2 separate regions of the Homo sapiens genome follow, and region 1 is linked to region 2. Evidence: promoter capture Hi-C in 16 types of primary human blood cells and fetal thymus (Javierre and others, 2016). All regions are on one chromosome and are shown on one strand. The core of a region is centred on a gene start or on the middle of the fragment in contact, and the rest is flanking DNA. Distances in the headings are between cores, read along the strand shown. Region 1 overlaps ZNF185 (zinc finger protein 185 with LIM domain). Region 2 holds the start of HAUS7 (HAUS augmin like complex subunit 7).

Region 1 (4,777 bases), core at 592-3,091, 520 kb before region 2:
GAGAAGGTCACTGGGCCATGCCGAATGAGAAGTGCCTGTAGGGGCTCCAGCCAGTGATGTCCAGTAGGCTACTGAGTAAACAAATGTGGAGTTGAGCAAAGATCTGACCTGGGGCTAGAGAGCTGGGAGTTGTCAGCTCATAGGAAGTCACTAAAGAGAATGCATGAGGTTGCCTGGAGAATGCCTTTGGAAGGCAGTGTGTACAAAGCATGTATTCTCGGCTTTTCTCTGCAGACTTCCAGGGACAGTTGTCCAGCCAGGCCCTTGGCTGGGTGGGTGAGTCCACGTGGTTCAGGGATGCTGAGGGAAGCTGCTTCATCAGCTGACATTTCTCTCCATTTTCTGCTCTTCTTTTGTCTCAAAAAGAAAAAAAGAGGGGATATTAATTATTGATCCCCTAAAACCCTAGCTGAATATATAAAATGAAAAGAAGTAAAAATATGAGAGAAGCAAAGGCAGATGGACCATAATTTTGGAAAATAATTCCAAAAGGTCTTAAGGAGGAAGAGGAGCTACAGAGAGGTATTGAGAAGGAAAATTTTGGATAAATGGAAGAATCAGGAAAGACTACCGTCATGGAAACCAAGCCACGCTGAGCTAACTTTCCAGTGCTCTGTAGATGCTGAAATAGGCCCATCAGATTTGGCTATGTAGAACTCATGACTGCCTTGAGGGGAGTAGGTTGGGGCAGTGGGAAAGGCTGTAGTTGGATTATAATGGATTGAGGAGGGAGCGGAGGATAAGCAGGTGCAGTTGATGGGGTACACACTCTGAAACTGGCTGTGACGTGATGGATGTGGGAGGGGTGAGCAGATAATTACAGCTACAAGATAATGGGGAAGGTTTCCTATAGGTGAAAGCAACGTGTGCATGTTAGGTAAAGGCTGGGCAGAGGGTGCCTACGTGACCAGTCCCCGATAAAATCCTTGGACTCTGAGTCTCTCATGAATTGCCCTGGTCGACAGCATTTCACACTTGTTGTCACAACTCACTGCTGAGGGGAACTGAGTGAATCCTGTGTGACCCACTGGGAGAGGACTCTGGAAGCTTGTGCCCGGGTTCCCTCAGAAATTTGCCTTGTGTGCTTTTCCCTTTGCTGATTTTGCTTCGTATCTTTTCACTATAATAAACCATAGCCTTGAGTGTGATGATGTGATGTGTCCTGTGAGTTCTTCTTGTGAATCACCAAGCCTAGGGATGGTCTTGGGGACCCCTGACACAGATGGGCAGGATCAGAACTTTATGCCATAACAAGGACTTTAGATTTTCTTTCGAGGGCAAAGAGGAGCCAGGAAGGTTTGAAGCAGGGGAGTGATATGGCGAGAGTATTGCTTTGCAATGGGATCTCCAGTGGCAGTGAGAAGAGTGACTGAAGTGGGCAGAGTGGAGCAGGGAGAAGAGGAAGTGCTTACAGCATCCTCCATGTAAGAAATGATGGGGCCTGGACTAGGGGACTAGCTGTGGAGATGGAGACAGAACTGTAAAATAAGTAGAAGAGATCCCAAATTGGATGACAGGTAAGACTTGGGAGAGCAGTGACGGAGAGGGAAGTGACAATTTAGAAAGCCACATTTCTGGTCGAGTGAGTGGAGTATGTGACCCCTCCTGGCTTAGGTGGTGGCCAAAGTATCTCTAACCTGCCTCTATACTGCCTGCAACTGACTGAGCAAATGCCTGGTCCGTGGAGATCCCAAGCTGACAAGGGCACCTGAGGCAAGCCTCTGGCTTTCAGGTGGAGGCCCTACCTAGGCTGGCCTGGCTGGATTGCCCTGGCACACTGCTGTTTTGCTGAGGCAGACAGCAGCACTCTGCAAGTGCTCTTCTCCTGTTCCTCTTAGTGGTCTAAATCCTGTAGCATGCTGGGGTGCGACTGTAGACAAATCCCCTTTCCGGGCCCCCTGGGGTTCTCTATTTGCAGTCTTTGGGTCTGGTCACTGGCATGGCATCTCAGTAGGCTAGGTTCATCAGGAAGGGTCAACTATGTCATGGCACCTGATGGGCAGCATTTAGAGTCTGTGGGCCAGGGGCTTAAGGGCTGCTTACTGCTAATAGTTCTAAGTAGCAAGCATTCCCTCAGCCCTAGTCTGGGCACACGCCAGGAAGAAAGCCACTAGATGTGCTCTCCTAGTGGATAACTAGCCTGGAGTTCCAAGAAGGGCAGAGACAGGCAGAGTGAGAGCCTTCAGAGATGTAGGCAACGATAGTAGCAGAACTTCGAGGGAGAGTAGATGGAAAAATTAAAAAAAATCCTTGTCATTATTTTTAAATGTCTGAATTGACCAGATTAGAATCTTTGAGAGTCTAGACACTAGGGAGATCTCATGGGTGGGCCAGTTATTATATCATATGGAGGGAGAGTACGTATGACCCAGCACGAGAGGACCAGAGGACAGTCAGTGCTAAGGGTAAAACCTTAGGCCATGGGAGATTGAGTTTTTCATCAGTTGGCAAGTTTTCACTTTAATACTCCACTGTTTCCATCATTTCAGACGACTGGGGATGATAAGGACAATGTAATTTGGGGGATAAAGGAAGAACTCATTATATTTCTTGGATGACTTTACTGGGGAAATGGATTCCTTAGTCATTTGAAAGAAGCGGTAGAATTCCACATGTGGGGAATACTTGTTCTAACAAAAGCTTAATAACATTAGTGGCAATGATCCTTTTATATAAGGGAAAGCTTCAAGCCAGTGAGAAAAACATAAATAAACTAGTAAGAACATATTTATAACCATGAGATTTGGGTGCAGAATAAAATCAAATTGGCAGTTCAGGAAAGGTCCTAAACATCTGTATATTAACAATATTCCATCAGTGAGCAATGTGAATTTCCCATAATTGAAATGATGATTGATAACCTTGTATTGTTCTTATCTAATATAAGGCAAAGCAGCACTGGGGCTTTGATAAAGAGCAATATCTCATGTACACTGAGGACACTGAAACCCCGCTAGGAATTCTATGGAATTTCTAAAATATTTATATTAAGGACATTTTACCCATTATAGACTAATTTAGGGAAGGTTCTGCATTTTTTTTTTGATTTGACAATGTTTCCAATGCAATTTATACAATATTAAATAAGACTAATTAGTTTTTGCACCTTTCTTGTTACAAGGTGAAAGAACTAATCCTTTGAGATTTTCCAGAAGGTCCCTGGCAAATCCCAAAGCCAGTTTTAGGTATAAAATATATTTAAGTTTTGATTGTGGGAAGGCAAATGTTAAGAGTTGTCAGGAGTTCTCGAACATTTGATTGAATAGCATTATGGGTTAGCGAGAAATACTACTTGGTTAGCTAGTGAATCAGAGTTGTAAAAATTTTCAAGTAAACATATGAGGTAACATGGTTGTAAAGAATCTTCAGTTCCTTTAAAATTGAAAAGACTTTAAAAAAATAACTAAGGACATAATAAACTGAACATACAGATAGGGCATTACAGTATTTTGATAAGACATAAAATCTTTGCCTCTTAGGCAGATGACTCAGAAGAAAAACAGACCATTTATAACTTTTTATTAGGGACAGACCAATGATCAAGAATTTTTTTTTTTTTTTTTTGAGATGGAGTCTTGCTCTGTTGCCCAGGCTGGAGTGCAGTCGCGCGATCACCATGTTGGCCAGGCTGGTCTCGAACTCCTGACCTCAGGTGAACTGCCCACCTCAGCCTCCCAAAGTGCTGGGATTACAGGCGTGAGCCACTGCACCTAGCCTAAGAAAATTTTGTTATTTTAACAGAGAAACCAACATTTTAATTTTATACAAGTATAATATTTGATATTAGTTCTTTTTTGAAAATCTTATAAATACACTGAATAAAAGTTTTAACCATGACAAATAAAATTCCTTTTCTGTGAACATTTTCTAATTTTAAAGATATTTGTTTACATTTTGTCTCACACATTTTTAAATTATTTGTCATTTTAATTTGGGACAAAGCTATTCTCTTTTTCCTTAGGAAAAGCATATTTGCATACAAAGTTGTTTCCCTTTGCCATTTTTGCCATTATTACTTTTAGCAGTTTATATATATATATACACACACACTTATTTACTTATTATAATTTTAACCATTAATAACTTCTCTTTCACAGAGAAAACAGGAGGTAGGTAATTTTGAAATATCATATACCAGCATTTTGTAGCAGACTAGTAAAGCTTATGAATATACATCTCATAACTTTTTATAGTTGTTATATACTTTTTATAGTACCATTTTGCAATGTGGACAAATGAACACATTTAACAGATCCATATGTAGTCACACTGTACCATAAAAAAAGCAAAAAGTATATAAACTTAAATTTAGGTCTAGTGACTAAGTATTTTATCTTCTTTATAAATGATATTTAATGAATTTAGTTAACTTAATTCAGCATAAGTCTAAGGTTTTAAGTTACCAAAAAGATTTTAGAAACTGCCTTTAAGCTTACATATTATAAAACATAATTACTGTTGAAATAAAGTTTGCCAGAATAATGACTCAGTTTGGTTAAAAGCAAATTTAAATTTTTATAATCTTAAACATGTAGTAGATATAATACTAGCTTATTCAACATGTAAACCTGTTTAAGTTTAGGAGGAACATACCCAAGTAGAGTAAAAATATATGCTTGTATTCTGTTGTATTATATGTAATGCTGATAACTCAAAGACACATAGGTGTCTATTAAACTAACAATATTAAACTAGTTTTGTTTGCCAAAAGTTTACATAAATTCTGTGAACTTGAGTTTTAAAAGCATTTGGGTTAGTTTTTATAAGAATACTTTTT
Region 2 (4,738 bases), core at 865-3,364:
GAGACAGACCCTCAGCTCAGGGACTACGTCACCAGGGGAAGGATGTCTGCCCTGGGAATGGGACACTCTGGATCATTTCCTCCACCATCACTCAGGAAGTCACCCTGTCACCATGGGCTTCATAGGGTGCCAGGCACACACCATGCTACACCCTGGCCCAAAGGCACCAGAGGACTGGGAAACGGGTCACGGCACAGAAGCTGACAAGAGGTGACACTGCATGAGGACCACTTGGCCAGCTGAGACCCAGCCAGGAGCCCACGCCCTGGCCCTGCCTGTCACTCCTCCACTGGGAGACCAGAGACTGTTCATGCCTCCAGCCTGACCCTTGGCTTCCGGGTCTGAGAAGGAAAGGACTGGAATGGAGCATTTCTCAGGTGCCTGCCAGTCCTGAACCTCCAAACTCATAAGGCAAGGCAAACGCTGAGGGCAAGTTCAGCACTGCAGCAAAGGGGTGGCTGGACTAGCCCAGCACCGCCAGGGGCCACTTTGCCCCAAGTTTGATCATGCCTGTCACCAGTACTCCTTACCTACACAGCTGTTCTCACGAGGGTCCAGGCTAGGGGGTGGAGCCCTCTGGGAAGACAGCTACTCACAGTAACCACAAACCCCATCTTCCCCAGGTGGGGCTGGCTGGCGCCCATGCACACCCCAGGTGGGAAGAGGAAGAAACTGATGCATTACCGGGTACACATCCACTCTAGGATCTCCAAGCGGTACTCTGAGGGGCTGCACAGCAGTTCCTGAATTGTCTTTGGCTCTGTGATATACAGACCCTCGAGGAAGGGGCAGTTTAGGTCCTAAGCAAGGAAAAGGAAAGCAACATTCACTGAAAGTCCCAGTGTACATCATTTCATTTTATTTATTTATTTATTTTTGAGACGGAGTCTCACTCTGTCGCCCAGCCTGGATGGAGTGCAGTGGCATGATCTCGGCTCACTGCAGCCTCCACCTCCTGGGTTCCAGCAATTCTCCTGCCTCAGCTCCCAGGGTAGCTGGGGGATTACAGGCATGCGCCACCACGCCCGGACAATTTTTGTATTTTTAATAGAGACGGAGTTTCACCATGTTGGCCAGGCTGGTGTCAAACTCCTGACCTCAGGTATCTGCCCACCTCAGCCTCCCAAAGTGGTGGGATTACAGGCGTGGGCCGCCGCGCCCAGTCCTCAGTGTACATCTGCAAGCTCCCAGGACCCTTTCCTTTACCCGCGTCCTGCCATCTTGCCAAGAGTTCAAGTCCCCCCATTCTTAACCCCACATCTCCCGCGGCATGCAGACCCCACCTCTTTCAAGTACTCCCACTCTGGGCTCTTGTGGCAGCAGGACCTAGGAGCAACGCCTGAGACTAAGACTTAAGAGAGAGTCCTAGGTTTCGGGACTGAGGGAAAGGGGAGAGGGAAAGGGAGAGGGACCACTGAGCCAGTCGCGGACAGGATGGGGGAGTGTCTGGGGGGAGGAGCGAGCGGGCCGAGGGGACCTGGGACAGCTCCCTAACCTCGTGGGCCAGCTTTCCTCACTGCTGCAGTGAGGGCTCTGTCCTGTGGGGCTGTAGAGGGCTTCTGGAGGCTATCACCCCTGGCATCTGACACCAACTGACACCAAGCCCTAGTCTCGCTGACTTGACAGAGTGGCACGAGGCTCTGCCCATCTGTCCCCCCAGACCCCGCAAGATCCCTAAGGCCAGGCCTGGGTCCTCTGTGTCTGCACTTGCTCCGAGCGCCCAGCGCGGGTACTGCAGTTCCACAGGCGGTGCTGGCCCCAACTACCAGGCACGGGCCGTGGAGACAGCAAGAACGAAGGCCTGGGGCACACCAAAGGGCAAAGATGAATGATCCACAAGCACCCCCTGCTGCAAGGGAACAGGGCGCAGCCGGAACCGGCGACGGTGGCCGCGTGGCGCCGCGGACTTCCGCAGCAAGCCCTCCCGGGCCTCGGGCGGGGCCCTCCCCGGTCCCCCGCCCTGGAGTGGCTTTCTGGGCCAACAGCACCTTCAGCTTCCCGAACACCTCCACAGCCGCCCTGGACACGCTGCTGTCGCCCTCGTCCTCTGAGTAGTCGTCGCCGCCACGGCCGCAGCCAGCGTCCTGCCCCGCCATGTTTCGCGCTCCGAGCCGCGCCCCGCCCATGCCCTGGCTTCACTGGCCGGCAAGACCGCCAATCAACCTCCAGCGTTCTTCCCGCCCACCCGCCTGCGCCCACCCCCTTCCCGACCGACCCTTCCCATTGGGCGACATCTCCGCCTGCGCGGGCCCCGGGCTCCCACCCCCCGCCCCGGCACCACCCAGAGGCAGGACCACAGTGAAGCGGGCAGGGCGGACACAGGGAAGGGGGCGGGGCGGACACAGGGAAGGGGGCGGGGCGGACACCGGGAAGGAGGCGGGGCGGACACCGGGAAAGGGGCGGGGCGGACACCGGGAAGGGGCGGGGCGAACGGGCCAAGCTGGCTCTGAGTCGCAGGCCTTGCTGGCGTCGCCCCTGCTGCCGGCCGGGAATGATGATGCGTTGAAGCGAGGCTCTTCCAGGAGGGGGCGCTCCTGCCTTGGTCGGGTTCTCCTGGGCCACCACCACTAAGGGGCACCCTGGTTCCCAGGAGGACCAAGGGGAGCCTTGGGTGCAGAATGGAACTCGGACTGAAGCGTTCCTCTCCCAGCGCGGGGCTCCGTCTTCTCTTCACCATGCTCACGCTGTAGTTAGAAGGAAATTTCTTGTCACTCACCAGCTGTGTGCCTTTGAACCAGTTACCTAACCTCTCTGTGCCTCTTTGCCCTCACCTAATGGAGCTAATGAGAGCACCTTACCCACTGGGTTGCTAATGAGGATGGCAGGCGGTAATAATTCCTGTGGAATCCCTAGAACAGTGCCCGGCGCATGCGAAGAACCACGTAAATGCTCACTATTGTAATACATGCTGGGCCCTGCTCCCCTCACGGCTCCTGGGGCTACCTGTGGCTCCTTCCTATCCTGTCTACTTAACAAATTTTTCTACATCCCTCAGGACCCTCAAACTCAATGCGTCTGCAATGAAATATGTCAGTCGCTCCTCCCCCAGACCTGCAAAGCCCCCAGTTCACTGAATGCCCCTTACCCAGGGACCTGCTGATTGGGCAAGGCAGGAAGGAGTTGGAGGGTGGCTTGTGCCCAGTAGCCAGGAGACAGCAGCAGGCAGCTGCCACTGTGCCCTCCTCTGTGCCCTACCCTGCCATCTCCTGGAGGGTGGGATCAGGGGGCAAGTCTATAGTCAGGGAGACCCAGGGACCTGCTGGGAGGCAACTGCAGTCATCCAAGTGACAGGAGGGGACTTCACTCCGTCCTGGGAGGAGGGAGCGGGCAGGAGTCCGGGGGTCACAGGAAGGGACCTCAGCCTGGGAGGCCCCGACACAGGCCCAGCGAAGTGCCTCAAGGTTGCTCTCTACCCTTCCACGTGGCTGCTGCCTCAGGCCCTTCTGGTAGCTGAGGGCTGTCAAAGGCTTTGGGATTTTTTTTTAAGCGTTTTTTTCCCTCTTTTTTGTTTTTGTTTTTCTTTCTTTCTTTTTAGAAAATTTCATCTCAATCACAGCCCCAGCTCAGACATTCAAATTCTTGTGGGTTTTTCTGTGGATCTTTCCTAGGACTGGGGAATTTGGCGGAAGAAACCACGGCAGTGTGGCAGCCTCCCCCAACCCTCCCCATATTCTCTGCTCCTGAGGACCGGGAAGAAACCAGCTCCTGTGTACTCTGGAAGAAAATCTCCCTCCTCCACCCAGCTCCACGGAGCCAGTGTGCTCAACAGGCCTCCCCAACCTCAGCAGTTCAGTCTATGGGACCCTGAGGAACTGGCAGGGCCTTGAGAGGCGAAGATCATCTTGAGAGGTTATGGAGGCCATCCCCCTCATGGAGAACCTGTTGGCCAGCCCTCAGCCCCTGGAGATGGTCGCTGAAGACCCAGCAGCAGGCTGCAGCTTCCCTGCCCACGCCACCCCACCACCCACCACCCACCACCCACCACCTGCCACCCACCACCCGCCCCCAGAATCATAGCACCTCCCAGGCATCTTCCTCCGGAAAAGCTGGAGGCTGGGGAGGGAACAGAGAGGCTGCTGGGCCTCTCAGGAAGGGGGAAAGAAGGGGCCCAGAGGTAGAAGCTTCTGGAAATGTGGACTCAAGCTCAGTCCAAGAAAGCACTCCTCCCAGAAATCACTGTCTGAACACCAGCTGGCTGCCAGGAGAGGAAGGGAGCTCCCGGTCCTAGAAGGTCTACAAGCCCAGGGAGGTGGGTGGGCGGGGATGTGGAGGGTTGAGTCCTACCATGGGGGAGGGAGGGGGCACATCTCTAAGGGACATTCCAACCCAGAGACCCCAGGTTCTCTGAGGGAGGCCTGGGTGGGTCAGGAGCCAAAAATGTGGCTGAAGGACCCATTGACCTGGAGGAGGGATGTTGGGGGGAAGCTGTGGATGTGGCGGGGAAGCTGGGGGGTCCTGGTCATGGAGGAAAGTTGGCCATGCGTCCCAGCAGGGCCTCAGCCGTGTCAGTGCTTGGAAAACACGTTGGAAAATGAGACTGGTTCACGGCACTGGCCCCGCTGTGCCAGAGATGGGCTGGCGGGTGCTGGTGGCATTCGAGACCTCTCAGTTTGTGTGGTGGGCCCAGAGATATATGGCCAAACAGTTGAGCTCACCAAGTGGGCAGCCTCCCTGACCTGTGGAGGGTATTGAAAAAGTCCTCAGAGCATCCGGGCCCTGCTCTTCATATGACCTTAAG

The links. Contacts are between HindIII fragments. The CHiCAGO score rates a contact against its expected background, and 5 or more counts as called.
Region 1: a contact is called between a fragment that was not itself captured here and the fragment with the promoter of HAUS7 in region 2, in 4 of 17 cell types (M1 macrophages, M0 macrophages, monocytes and 1 more). The highest score is 8.1, in M1 macrophages.

What each region holds. Positions count from the first base shown.
Region 1 is chrX:152,947,540-152,952,316 of GRCh38, forward strand. The region is part of intron 18 of ZNF185 (zinc finger protein 185 with LIM domain); the gene reads left to right. Among named protein-coding and RNA genes, the nearest start is that of PNMA5, 44 kb to the right of the region's middle. The HindIII fragment of the contact is 1,593 bases long and covers 1,046-2,638 here.
Region 2 is chrX:153,468,462-153,473,199 of GRCh38, forward strand. It overlaps HAUS7 (HAUS augmin like complex subunit 7), which reads right to left and starts at 2,115. Exons shown (of 10, transcript NM_001385482.1): 1 at 1,989-2,115; 2 at 685-800. The coding sequence starts at 2,096. RefSeq lists enhancers at 1,407-1,586, 1,737-1,836, 2,350-2,644 and a silencer at 2,167-2,476. The HindIII fragment of the contact is 16,714 bases long and covers 1-4,119 here.